Linked DNA regions of Homo sapiens: region 1 is linked to region 2. The links are contacts of gene promoters, found by promoter capture Hi-C in human tissues and cell types (Jung and others, 2019). All regions are on one chromosome and are shown on one strand. Each heading gives the region's core, a stretch centred on a gene start or on the middle of the fragment in contact. The rest is flanking DNA. Distances are from core to core; before and after follow the strand shown.

Region 1 (7,111 bases), core at 2,529-5,028, 190 kb after region 2:
ACTGATAAAACTGTGACTCATACAATATGCAATTAGATGAAGGGTTAAGGGCAAGAGATTGAGTCCCAGTTGAGGAGGGGTAGGGATCTCTGAGAGATATTGGACACCAGGGATGAATTTTGTTGAACAGTGGGAAGAGGAGCTTGCAGTTAGGGAGATATTTGGAAGATGGTTCGGGATAAATACTAGGTGAGGAGTTGTATTGGGGGAATTAGGATTGGTATGAGGTAGTCTGGAGAGGGGGTGAAATTTATGGCCAAATGAATCTGGATATAGGGATTAGGCAGGGTGATGGGCTGAACTGGAGCTAGTGGTAGTAAAGTTAGGTTGTGGTTGTCTTGGGGTTAAACATGGATAGACCTTGGGTAGAGTAGGGTTGGAGTTTGGAGTTAAGATGGAAACAGAGTTTAGGCTCAATTTGAACAAAAGTGTGAGTGATCAGAACTTGGGATTGGTCTGTAGTTGTGTGGAACTTGAATCTGTGTTAGGCTTAAATGGAGCCACGTAATCAGGTAGATCGGGGTCTATTAAAATTTATTCTGTTCCCTCCTCCAAATGAAAATATCCAGAGGCCTTTCTCCATAACTTCCCAAATTCCTTGGGTGAGAACTTCATAGGCACTGAATGGTTCAAATGTTAGAATTTGGAAGTTGGCTAGAGGAAGAAAAAGGCTGGTATGATCAGAGAGGGCACCTCTTGAAGCTGAGCATTTCCACAAGAATACCCTGAGAGTAGTTTCTCACATCCCTCCACTATTTCAAAGTCAACACAATCATCTTTCTGTCCTTCTCGTCTCCCTCATCCAGACTCTCTTTTTTCTTGCGCTGCTCCTCAATTCTCTCTACATATGGGAACTAATCACTGCCAGTGTTTTTGTTTTCTTTTTAAAAAATATCCCACCAACACTGTTATACCCTGTAGATTGTTTTGTGAAGAAGACGAAGATGGGGAAACTGAGCCTCAGAAAGGAAAGTGACCTTCACACAGGCATTCAGTGGGTCACACACAATGGTGAAATTCAAAAGAAGATTTCTTCTGACTATCAGACTGAGCAATGAGGAAATATTAGAAGTGAAAATAAATTGATGTTGGCGATACAAAGTCTGATGGCGATACAAAGTATTACCCAAAAAACCGTGGTAATAAGGAACTTAAAAAAGGTACTGACATTTGCTTTGGGTGATGCAGCCGTGTGTCTCTGTCCGGATGGAAAGAGTGAGAGAGAGAGAGAGACTACCTTCCTGCACCTCTCTCTGTGTCAGCATTTTGCCCATTGCTCTGGTGGATTCTGAGAGAGTTTTGAGTATTTCGTAGTGGTCTTCCTATTCAGGGCGATTGGGAGAGGGCAATCCCTTCAGACTGGGGCGGAATTAGATCAGGTTTGAGTTTCATTCTGAGGAGGGCTCCCTGCAGCACTTATTCTCCCTATCTATGTGAGGCCTGCTGAGAAGGCATGCCAGGCAGCAGGGAGGAGTCCCCTGTCTGTTTGGATGTGGGAGGGGACATACAGGGGCACTGTGATTCAAATGCAGCAAGGACTGTAAAAGTTTTTGGTAGTTTTCTGGGATCTACCAGGAGGCCAGCAGATGTAGCTACTGTTTTGGGTTTCTGTGGGAGGCCATATACTAGCCTGACACAAAGGCATTCCTTCTTTCCAAAACTTCAGCGAAGAAAAAAAATATCCTTTTTTTGCTGCCATCCTGATCCAAAGAAAATAGAAGAAATAATTTTTAGTTTATTCAAATACTTATAAACAAGGGATGACTTTGAGCATTGTTTATATATTGGAATTATTTTTAGTTTATTTAGGTACTGAAGAATTTATTATACCTGGCCCTTCATAGAAGGATAAGCATGAAATGAGTGCTAATAAATAAATGTATTGTCAAGGGGAGCATCACTGTGGAGGAATTTCAATAGACTAAAATGCTGAGAACTTATGGTGACAGCTGTGGAGGAATTCACTTACTCCATTTCTTTTATGAAAACGGGTGCACTTGAAATTTTATGTATATATAACCTGAGTCTTCATGTGAGCACTGTATTGAAAATTATATTGAAAACATTGATAAGTTTGAGTATGTAAAAATATAAGAATTTCTGTCCATCAAAAGATACCCAAAAGAAAGTAAAAAGGTAAGCTACAAACTGTAAGGAACATAAATGTTCTTTGACAGGCAAATAGATAAATAAATTGTGATATATTCAAAGAATGAGCTACATATCAGGGAAAAGAAGTAAAATTCAGCTACACACAATAGTTGAATTTTAATAATAATAATATATTATGGATTGTAAAAGACAAATCTTAGAAGACTATGCATACCAAAGAAGACTTTGTTACCTCTTTTAAAAATAAAACTATTTTTTTCCCAGTTTTATTTTTCTCCCCAAAATTAAACTTTAAACAATAAAAATTACCATTATGCTACTTAGAAATACAAATAAATATGTTAAATTCTTGGGGAGTGGATAAGGAAAGGCAGGATGTGTGGGATTTTAGAGGAATACAGGAGTATTTAAATTTAAGTTATTGATGCTATTTTAGCTCTTGTATTTGTGAAGGACTCGTTATTTTTAAAATAAATGAATAAAAACATTACAATAAATAAACATTAAAGAGGGCTATAAAGATGCCAAAAATTTTGTATGGACCAAGATAATGGTATGCACCTCTGGTATATTAGAAAGGAAAAAAAAAACACACAAAAAAAACCCCCCACAAAAACCTATAGAACAATGGATATCGCAGCTGCAACTGGCATTATCTAGAAAGGAGTCAGCCTTCTCCAGCTGTTTCACTATATGTAGAGATGGTGTGGTACAATGGATATAGTTGAGGGTTTGGGATATGAATGTTGGCTTTATTACTTACTATTTAGAGAGACTTTGCTGGAAATTTGTAAGCACAAAACCAGAAAACAGCTATGAAGAATTAACTACTTAAATTTAATTACTTCTCTATGGCAAAATGTACCATACACAAATTAAAAGGTAAGTCCAACACTGGGAAAATATTTTATTACTTCTTTAGTTCAAAGATTTCTCTGGTGGGGCATGAGATAATCTTATGGGCAGTAAAGTACTTACCTGAAGGAGATTATAAAGTGACACTGTCTAATTTATAAGAGGATAAAGAAACCTAAGTTTGAAAAAAACTCAAGTTGCACATAACCTTGAGGTTCAGACATATTTAGACTTGTTTAGAAAAAGCAAAAGAGAAGATACTGGTCAAATAGCAACCAAATTTCAAGAATAGGCAGAAAGAATCTTCTTTCCCTAGTAGCCATGCTGAGCAACAAAGCTTAACATTGGGCTTAAGCATTTGCCTTGAACTCCATGGCAGAGTGAGTACTTTTCTGCTGAAAACATCTCTAAAATGGATATTTTTCATATTTTCTTAAATGATTTCATAAGCTTGCAAAAATTAAATAATATGGAACCAAGAAATTGAATTGAGAAGGGAGTCCTTTTAGGAAAAGAAACACTGAAACAGTTTCCACCTTGAGGGTATTTCCTGAACCATATGAACTTGAGTTATGCTTTTCATGGCCTTATGGAACTGAGAAATGGAAATTACTATCCAGAGTACCAGTGGTAAAAAACCTAATAAGAGACTCCTGCATCAATATGGGACTTCAAAGAATTGCGTCTTTACAATAACAGTGAGCTGGAAACAATCCCTACTCCCCAGTTGGATTGCAAGGAAAATGAACTGTTTTTAATTTAGTTAATGAGAAGATTGGGTGTGTGTGTGCAAGGGAGTCTCCTCTGAGATTTTGTAATCCCAAGCAGGCCCTCACTTAGTATATAGCCTGAATCATGGCACTCTGATGATATGAAAAATCTAAAGCTGAGAATCTAATTTACACAGGCCCAGACTGGTAATGCCCTTAGTTGCCTGACAGAAGTAAACATAAATATTCTCTGAAGAACTCATCTTAATCCTAGACCTCTTTAAAAAAGTTTAAAGAAAATGATCAGTTCGCAGACAAAAATCACAAAACTCTCAAGAAAATAAAGCATTATGAATGAGAAGCAGCAGAAAGAATAAATAGTAAACTCAAACCTGGAACAATTCAGATATTGAAGTTGTCAGTCACAGAATAGAAAGTAATTATCTTTATGGCTGGGCACATTGGCTCACGTCTGTAATCCCACACTTTGGGAGGGCAAGGTGGGCAGATCACCTGAGACTGGGAGTTCAAGACTAGCCTGGCCAACATGGTGAAACCCCCTCTCTGCTAAAAAAAAAAAATTAGCCAGGCGTGGTGGCATGTCCCCGTGATCCCATCCACTCGGGAGGCTGAGGCAGGAGAATCGCTTGAACCCAGAAGCCAGAGGTTGCAGTGAGATGAGATTGGGCCAGCCTGGGTGACAAAGCATTCCAGCCTGGGTGACAAAGCAAGACTCCATCTCAAAAAAAAAAAAAAAAAAGAAAAAATAATCATCTTTAATATGTTTCAAGAAAAAATCAAGACTTGAAATTATAAATAAAAAGCAAGCAGATCTTGGCCAAGTGCAGTGGCTCATGCCTGTAATCGCAGCACTTTAGGAGGTCGAGGCGGGTGGGTTGCCTGAGCTCAGGAGTTTGTGACCACCTGGGGCAAGATGATGAAACCCTGTCTCTACCAAAATACAAAAAATTAGCTGGATGTGGTGGTGCACACCTATAGTCTTAGCTACTGAGGGGGCTGAGGTGGGAGGATTGCTTGAGCCAGGGAGGTGGAGGTTGCAGTGAGCTGAGATCATGCCACTGCACTCCAGCCTGACTGACAGAGTGAGACCCCATCACAAAAAAAAAAAAAAAGGAAGCAGATCTGAAAAATAAATAGAAATAACTTGAAATAACGTGAAAATAAAAACTTGGATTTAACATTACATTAGACATAGCTGAAGAGAGAATTAGTGAATTAAGAGATTATTCAGAAGAAATTATTCAGAATTTAGTGCAGATAGACAAAAAGATTAAAAAAATAAAAGGGAGGTTAAGAGACATAGAAAATATAGTGAGAAGTCCTAAACATGTTTATTTGGAATTCTAGAAGGAAAGAGGAGAGAAAATGGGAGCAGAAGTAATAGTACCAGTTAACATGACTGAGAACTTGTGAACTGATGAAAAACACCAATCTTTCAGACTCAAAAAAAACCCTAATAAATCAAAACCAGGGTAAATATGAAAAATGCACATGTAGATAGAACACAGGGAAAATGTAGAATAATGAAAACAAGGAGAAGATCTGAAACCAGCTAGAGAAAAAGGTCCTATTACCTGCAAGGGAGCAAATATTAGACTGACAGCAACTTTTTCAGCATCAACAAAGAAAGCATGAAGACAATGATACTATATTTTCAGTGTGCTGAGGAAGAATAACTCTCACATATATTCCTACACCTAATGAAATTGTAATTTAAGAATGAAGATATACTGTAGATATTTTCAGATAAAATCTAGGAGAATTTTCTATAATAGGCTATCACCAAAGGAAATTCTAAGAGAGAAGCTTTAGACAGAAGGTCAATACTTGTAAATATGTGGCAAATTTGCAATCATTCATTGATAAAATAATAACAATAGTATTTTTCTTAACCAAAAACAATAAGATAAAATTAAAATTGCACATAAATTAGGAGATGAGTATTTGGGATTAAAAAAATAAAGTTGAAATGAATAGGAAATACACTAACCCAAAGAAAGCAGTTTAGCTAAATTAATATCACACAAAATAGACTTCCAGGAAAGAAAGCATTATTGAGATAAAAAGTATAACTGCGTAGTGATAAAATGTTCAACTTACTGGGAAGACATGTTTTCCAAACATATTTTTGTACCTTTATTAATACAGCATGGAAATATATGTAAATAAAAATCATCAGAAATAAAGAGGAATGGATGAATCCATAATTAAAGTCGGGGACTTAGAAATCCTCCTCTGAATATAGATGTGGTAATCACCAGTTAGTAGGATTAATCTAATATACAGAACACTGCATCCAAATGATACAAATTGTTCTCAAATAGAGACAAGAACATTTATAAAATATTATCACAGGCTGAGTGATATGGGACATCTTATCACATATCAACATAATGAATAACCTAAGAATATCTGCCTTATTTATTTGCCATTGTTACTTGACAAATTATAATTGTATATATGGAAGCTCTGTCTTTTGATTATATTGTAGGCATTTGTTATGGATAATTTTATATGCTTTTCTTATTGATTCATATGATATATATGACTTTTGGAGTATTGTAAGGAGACCTAAATTTAGGTGGCTAAACAGAATCCAGAAACCTCACAAGCATTAAAATGTAAATATTTTAGTTTTTCCAACTTAAATTGACTAGAACCAATAGCACCGTATTAGCAATGAGCATAAGTGCCCAGATTTTGGTCTGCAAGTCAAGTCTTCACTCAAAGCAACCAGGGCCATTTAGAAAAATGGCTGAACCCTGGTCTAGTGCTGTGGACTTACAGTGTGAGCCCAGGACATTTTCTTGTGCAGAAATCATCAAAGCTTTAAAAAACGAATGGGTCATGTAAAGGGATATATAATCCAGCCAGAGGAAATCTCTACTTGATAAGGTTATAACAATTTGAGCATCAAAAATAGTAACAAATAAAATGGACTGGAATACAATGAATCAATGAAAAGGCATGATTGTCTAAAGATACTCAGAGATGGGATAACCAGAAAAACTCATATGTCACCATTTGAAGCAGCTACTAAGCAAACTACTTACTTCAAAGACCAATAAGTAATTTGAAAGAATTAAGCATTTATCCTGCCTCTCCAGTAAGAGCTGTATTTCTAGTAATCAAATAGCTCTTGTTGATGAGGGAAAGCTATATTTTACTGAATTGTATTCTGCAACGCCTAAAGAATTTATTGATTCAGGCAAGGACCATAATTTGTGTTAAAACCATTAAGGATGTGATTGACATGGAACCAGATATTTGTTACTTGGCAAAAGTAACAACATACAGACCAATTTGAATATGAAAGTGAAAAATCAACACTGTCCAATAAAAAGACCAGACAGTCGTCACTTTAATTCACTTGTGAATCTGAATAGCAAGGGACATCCAGATATTAAATGACT
Region 2 (6,946 bases), core at 2,163-4,662:
TCTGCACTGCTTGATTTTTTTTTTTTTTAACAAGTGTATAGTATTTTTGTAACAATACGATTAACCGCTGCATTGCTTTCAGGATTCTCTTCCCCAGAAAGGCCACGGGCTTCCTGAACATCTTGTCACTACATCCAAGCCCCTCTCCTGGGCTCACACCACACTCTTCACTGCCTCCCTGAACACATCTTGTGGTCCCCTGCCCCACCTTCTCCTGCTCTGCCTGTTGGACTCTCCCAATCCATGCAGAGACAACTGCTGCCCCCTCCAGGAGGCCTATCAGAGCTCTATTTACTTGACTAGTCACATGTCTGTTTCTCCTTGGTGACTGGGCTCAGTGAGGGCAGGGCTTGGCCTTCTTTGTCCCGGAACTCCTGGTACCCAGCCCAGAGCCTAGCCCACAGCAGGCACCCAGTCCTGTTCGCTGAGGGCCCTTTAAACCAATGTTTAATGTGCAGCTACTGCCTGGGTCATATTCGCTTCTGTCTGGGATATAGGACTCTGACAGTGATGGGTGCTGCTCTGAGACTGCTCCTCCCAAGGCTACTTCTTCACAACATACTCCTGGAGGCTCTACCTTCTTTCTCTCCATGATTTCACAATTTTCCCTGCCTGTTATGGACACCTTGACCCTTGGGGATTCTGTCCTCACATTCCCTCTCTCCCAACTGGTTTTGGGGTCCAACACTGGTGGGAAATCAAAACTGGGTCCCCACACTAACTCTTCTCTCTCCTTTTCACATGACCAGGGAAACGACTCAGGGTAGAAGGGGAGTCATTTGCCCTGTCCTTTCCCTAGGTCAATGCTGCTTGTCTTTAAAGGTACCTGTGTTAGGAGAGAGCCCTGGATGAGGACTAGGCATACCTGATTCTGCCCCTAAATGGCAGAGTGATCTTCAGAAGTCATTTCTTTGACTCTCAGTTTCTTTTCCTGTACAATGAGGATAATGAAACTGGCTCTGCCTGCCACCTCAGTTGCTGTGAGCATCAAAGGGCGTCAAGGTTTTGCAAGCTTTACCGCATCTGGGTCATTGGTGGTGGCAGGCTCTTAATGGTCAGGTCCTGTTTGTAAATTCATACAGTCCTCCACACCCTGCTGCCCTGCAGGAGATGCTTGGGAGAGGTATTCAGAGGCTAAGGCTTTCTCCTATCCATACCCTCTGTTCCAGCCACACCAAACCTTCCACTATTTCCTGAACTGCCTCGTAGCCTCCTGCCTCCGTACCTCTCTCTGCTTACCTGGTTTCTTTTGCTTAGAATGCCTTCTCCTGGCTGAAATTCTACCTCTACGTCAAGGCTCAGGCCTACCTCTAGCACAAAGCCTCCCTGCATTGTCCCAGATGTGCTCAATCTTTCTCCCTAAACCTTGTAGCATTGCTTGTAGTATAATCACAATCTAGTTATTATTCTTTCACCTACGCTCCCGAATTCCTTGGTGACAGGGCTCTGACCTACTCATCTTTGCAGCAATCCTCCCTTACCCCTGACAGTGGTGGAAGTTCAGGAAATACTGTTGCCTGGAAGGTGTTTTCTGCAGAGATTAGTGATCCATGTACAGAAGGTGCCAGGGAGAATTACTCAGTTTGGAGAGCAGCTCAGATCAAGCTGCCTAGCCTTATGCCAGCTGTCCTTCGCCTCCTCTGTCCTGGGTTATCTCAGAACTGCTCTCTACACTAAGTGTCTACCTGACAGGCATAGTAGAGAGGCTTAATATCACCTGAACTCAGCTTAGAAAAAGCCAAATAAAAAGGAAAATGGAGTCATGTTTGAGTCTCTCAGCCTAAGCCCCGCCTAACTACTTTCCTTTGCATCTGATCGCATACAGAGCCAGTAGTGAGTTCTCTGCTCCTGGGGAAGGAAGATGGCAGGCCTCAGCTACTGCTCAAGTTGGGTAGTGTTTTGAGAACCTCAGCTTCAGCAGTTTCAAAAGTGGCAGCTGCTTTGTGGGCCTGCCCTCTTTGGGCAAGACTTCCACTTAGGTCCATCCTCAGGTCTGGGTGGGGGAGGAGCATCGGGAAGGTGCAGATTAAGAGGTTGTGGAGGAAGGGAGAGGGTGCCAGGAAGTGAAAAGTCATTGGTACAACGGGCTAGAAAGGGCTTAATATAGGGAAGAAGTGGGGCAGGGAAGGGGGAGGGAGAAGCAGAAGGTGAAATGTGCTGGAGTCCTCCTAGTTATCCAATAGGACAGATGTTGAGGAAGGCCAGGGATGGAGTCTGGCCCAGTCTCACAAGAGGGGCCAACAGTGGCCCAGCAGACAGGCCCAGTTTGGTGGGGGGATTGTCTTGGGGGTATGGGGAGAAGGGCTACTTTGAGATAGGGTCAAAGGCTGGGTGGGAAAAGGGTTACAGGTTAGGAACAAGGTCTAGGTTTTGACTAGGCCATGTCCAAGGTTGGATGGTAGTTAAGAGAGGAAACCAGGAAAATAAGACGTCCATGCCTAGTTGGAAAGTAGAGGCACCAAGATGCCAGCTTCTGAGGAGCCAGCTGACTGGGATGGTTCCAGAAAGTGATGTGAAAAACTGGGCTCTAAGAGATCATTGTTTTTGAGGCAGGGGCAAGGGCCAGGTGTGGGGGATCTAGGTGAGCACATAAGGTGCCATAGATTCCAGTGAGACAGGAGTCAGAGTCTAGGGATGGGTCTGGATGGTAGAAAGGGCCCTGCGGTGGGCTGAGGCAGGGTTCCTAACAGGGAATGACACGAAATTGTACCATTCAGTAAGTTGTGAGGACCAGTATCCATCAGGTATACATGATGGGGCTGATCTGCCTGGGCCCAACAGGCTCAGAACAATCAGTGCCCGAGTCGCAGTGGGGGACGGGCTGACAGCGTTCCCAGCCGCGGCATGATGCACAGGGAGGGAAGTGTCAGGGTCCGGGTCGGGAGCAGAAGCAAGTTCCTATTGGGGAAGGTATCATACCCTGGTCGGGGGTCGGTGCCCAGATCCCGGGGTAGGAAATGCCAGCCCCGGAATGTGGGCCCGAGACAGAGGGAACGGTGGTGATCAGGGCTGGGAAGAGTCAGTGTCCGGGGAGAGGTGTCTGTCCCGCCTAGGAAGGGTCCATGTCGGCCGTGTTCGGTATGGGGGTGGAAAGTGCCCGGTTTTCCCGCTGACCCTACCTTGCCGCGGGCGCAGCGTACGGAGCGCAGGGCGCCGAAGAAGATGGGCAGCAGCGCCATGAGCAGGAGGCTGCCGTAGGCCAGCGCGATGCCCTCGGGCGTGGAAGGCGGCCGCGTAGTGCTGTTGGTGGGGCCGCCTGCCTCGGCACTGCCGTTATGCGGATCGCTGAGGGCCGAGTCCATGGCGAGGGTGCGTTCGGGATCCGACTCCAGCTCCGGTTGCTGCAGCAGGGACGCAGGCGGAGACACCGGCTCTGCAGGGAAAGCCACGTTCCCCTAAGGCAACAGGAAGTGACGTGCTCCCTCCCAAGCCCGCGCCGCGCACGCGCGCACACACGCTTGCACGCACGCGCGCGCGCGTGCACGTCTCCCCGCCCGCTCGCCCTCTAGCGGTGGCCGAGGGCCGGGCGGCGGGTTGCTAAGCAACTTGTTAGCGGTCCGGACAGGGGCTCTGGGCCACTGCGGTGGGCATGCGACCCGAATGCCCATTTCCCAGTCCCAGCCGGTCTCCTCAATCCCCTGCTGTCCACTCTCCGCAAATCCTCATATTCCGAATAACTAAGAATGTGTTTATTCATACATGCATTTATTGGGTATCCAATTGTTTATTCACTCCTTAAATATTTATTGAATGTCCCTCAATATGCCAACAACTGACCTAGGCTCTGGGGACACTGAGGTGAACAATACAGGCAAAAGTTCCTCCTTGCCTTCGTGAAGTTTGCATTTTAGTGCAGTGTGTGTGGGGGGACGTTGGGAAGACAATAAAGAAACTGAACAAAATAAAAGTCTGTAAAATGGGCTGGGCGCAGTGGCTCACGCCTGTAATCCCAGCACTCTAGGAGGCCGAGGCGGGTGGATCACCTGACGTCACGAGTTCGAGACCAGCCTGACCAATATGGTGAAACCCCGTCTGCACTAAAAATACAAACAATTAGCCGGGCGTGGTGGCACGCACCTGTAATCCCAGCTACTCGGGAGGCTGAGGCAGGAGAATCGCCTGAACCCGGGAGGCGGAGGTTGCAGTGAGCCAAGACTGAGCCATTGCACTCCAGCCTGGGCAACAAGAGCGAAACTCCGTCTGAAAAAAAAAAAAAAAAAAAAAAAAAAAAAGGCCAGGCGCGGTGGCTCACGCCTGTAATCCCAGCACTTTGGGAGGCCGAGGTGGGCAGATTGCGAGGTCAGGAGATCGAGACCATCCTGGCTAACACGGTGAAACCCCGTCTGTACTAAAAATATAAAAAATTAGCCGGGCGTGGTGGCGGGCGCCTACAATCCCAGCTACTTGGGAGGCTGAGGCAGGAGACTGGCTTGAACCTGGGAGGCGGAGGTTGCAGTGAGCCCACTGCACTCCAGCCTGGGCGACAGAGTGAGACTCTGTCTCAAAAAAAAAAAAAAAAAAAACAAGAAAAATTTGTAATTTGTAAAACGTTAATGTATAGTTATGTGTTACATAGCATGTTAATGCAGATAAATAGAGAAAAATAAAGCAAAAGAAAGTAAGGTGTGTGTGGAGTTTGCAAATGTATTGAGAGCCTACTATGTGCCAGGCAATTATAATACCTTACGAGTTCATGCCCCTGTACAATTTATAAAGCTTTGTGGCTCTTTTCAGAATTTGAAGAATCTGTTTATTTATGTGATTCTTATTTTTGATATTGTTAAAAAAGTTAAAAATATATATTTTCTTAGACATGGGGTTTTGCCATGTTGGCCAGGCTGGTCTCAAACTCCTAGGTTCAAGTGATCCTCCTGCCTCAGCCTCCTAAAGTGTTGGGATTACAGGTATGAGCCACTGCTTGCAGCCTACTGTGGCTATATTAGATACTGGAACATCTAAGCATCACTGTGTGACTGTGCAAACAAAAAACTTCAAGGAGGGCCTATTATTATTATTATTATTATTATTATTTTGAGACAGGGTCTCACTCTGTCACCCAGGCTGGAGTGCAGTGGCATGATCACAGCTCACTGCAGCCTCTACCTTCTGGGCTTGGGTGATTCTCCCACCTCAGCCTCCCCAGTAGCTGGGACCACAGGTGTGTGCCACCACGCCCGGCTAACTTTTTGTGTTTTTAGTAGAGATGGGGTTTCGGCATGTTGCCCAGGCTGGTCTCAAACTCCTGGGCTCAAGCAATCTGCCCACTTCGGCCTCCCAAAGTTCTGCAATTATAGGCATGAGCTGCCACCTCCCGCAAGAGTGCCTATTTTATTTTATTTTATTTATTTTTTATTTTTTTTTTTGAGATGGAGTCTTGCTATGTCACCCAGGCTGGAGTGCAGTGGCACGATTTCGGCTCACTGCAACCTCCAGCTTCCGGGTTCACGCCATTCTCCTGCCTCAGCCTCCCGAGTAGCTAGGACTACACGCACCCGCCACCACGCTCGGCTAATTTTTGGTATTTTTAGTAGAGTCAGGGTTTCACCGTGTTAGCCAGGATGGTCTCGATCTCCTGACCTCGTGATCCGCCCGCCTCGGCCTCCCAAAGTGCTGGGATTACAGGCATGAGCCACCGCGCCCGGCCAAGAGTGCCTATTTTAAAAAAGATTTCTATGTGTTGAGGCAGTTGTTTACTGCAGAATTAAGCCCACTTTAGGCTTACTACCAGCTTCTATCTAAAAATATTGACTGATAACCGAAAGTGTTCTAAAGGTGGTTATTCTGATCTATAGTTTTTTTGTTTGTTGTGAGACTGAGTTTTGCTCTTTTTGCTCAGGCTGGAGTGCAATGGCGCAATCTCGGCTCACCACAACCTCTGCCTCCCTGGTTCAAGCGATTCTCCTGCCTCAGCCTCCCGAGTAGCTGGGATTACAGGCATGCGTCACCACGCCCAGTTAATTTTGTATTTTCAGTAGAGATGGGGTTTCTCCATGTTGGTCAGGCTGGTCTCGAACGCCTGACCTCAGTGATCCACTCGCCTCGGCCTCCCAAAGTGCTAGGATTACAGGCGTGAACCACTGCGCCTAGCCTCTGATCTATAGTTTTTTAAAAAAGTATTTACAGAAAGTATAGAAGTTTTTGTGAATTTAATACAAGTTAGCCTCCAATTTTCTCTTCTCAAATGTTTGATTTATAGTTTTTGCTCCTTTACATATTTGCTTTTTTAATTTCAAGATTTGTAATTTTACCTTCAAAACAGTTCATTTTTAAAATTGTAAAGCATGTTTAACATACGCAGAAATAGGCTGGGTATGGTGGTTCACGCCTGTAATCCCAGCATGCTGGGAGGCCGAGGTGGGTGGATCGTGTGAGCCCAGGAGTTAGAGACCAGCCCGGGCAACATAGCAAGACCACATCTAAAAAATAAATAAATAAATAAAAAAAAGTCAGTATTTTGAAATTATTTGAGCTCAATGCAGTTCTACTCTTTGGAAGCAGATTAGCTAACTGAATCTGGTGCTCTTGTTGAATAGAAATAGGTGATGGGAAATGTCTATCATTTGACTTTATAAGGATAAGCAAGATTTACCATGATGCTTTGATTTGGGGGTGGATTCCAGTCCATCATTGCCCTGGCACATGTCAATTAGTACACACAAAATTCAATGTCAAATCCAGAGCCTCAGAGGAAAAAATTTATTCCCCAAGAGAACAATGATAACATAACAAAGTAAAATGTTATCTAGATTATATTGGTATTAAAATTATCTCTTATATAAAGTATATTGACTGTAACTATACATAGAAGATTCATAGTAACACCTGGAAGTTCCTTCTCATGTTATATATAAATTGAATTATGAAAGCTTTTTATATTACCTGTTTATGGCCTTATAGATTTAATGTACCAAATGAAAACTTCCCACTCTACCTCTAGATAAGATAA

What was found. Contacts are between HindIII fragments. The study calls those that stand out against the background at their distance.
Region 1: a fragment that was not itself captured here is called in contact with the fragment with the promoter of HM13 in region 2 in 1 of the 25 tissues and cell types used here (mesendoderm cells).

Annotation. Positions count from the first base shown.
Region 1 is chr20:31,317,048-31,324,158 of GRCh38, reverse strand. No RefSeq gene overlaps it. Among named protein-coding and RNA genes, the nearest start is that of DEFB116, 12 kb to the right of the region's middle. The HindIII fragment of the contact is 4,475 bases long and covers 1,541-6,015 here.
Region 2 is chr20:31,510,908-31,517,853 of GRCh38, reverse strand. It overlaps HM13 (histocompatibility minor 13), which reads right to left and starts at 3,412. Exons shown (of 13, transcript NM_178581.3): 1 at 3,120-3,412. The coding sequence starts at 3,302. It also overlaps the pseudogene CD24P3. RefSeq lists a silencer at 2,746-2,815. The HindIII fragment of the contact is 9,221 bases long and covers 1-5,791 here.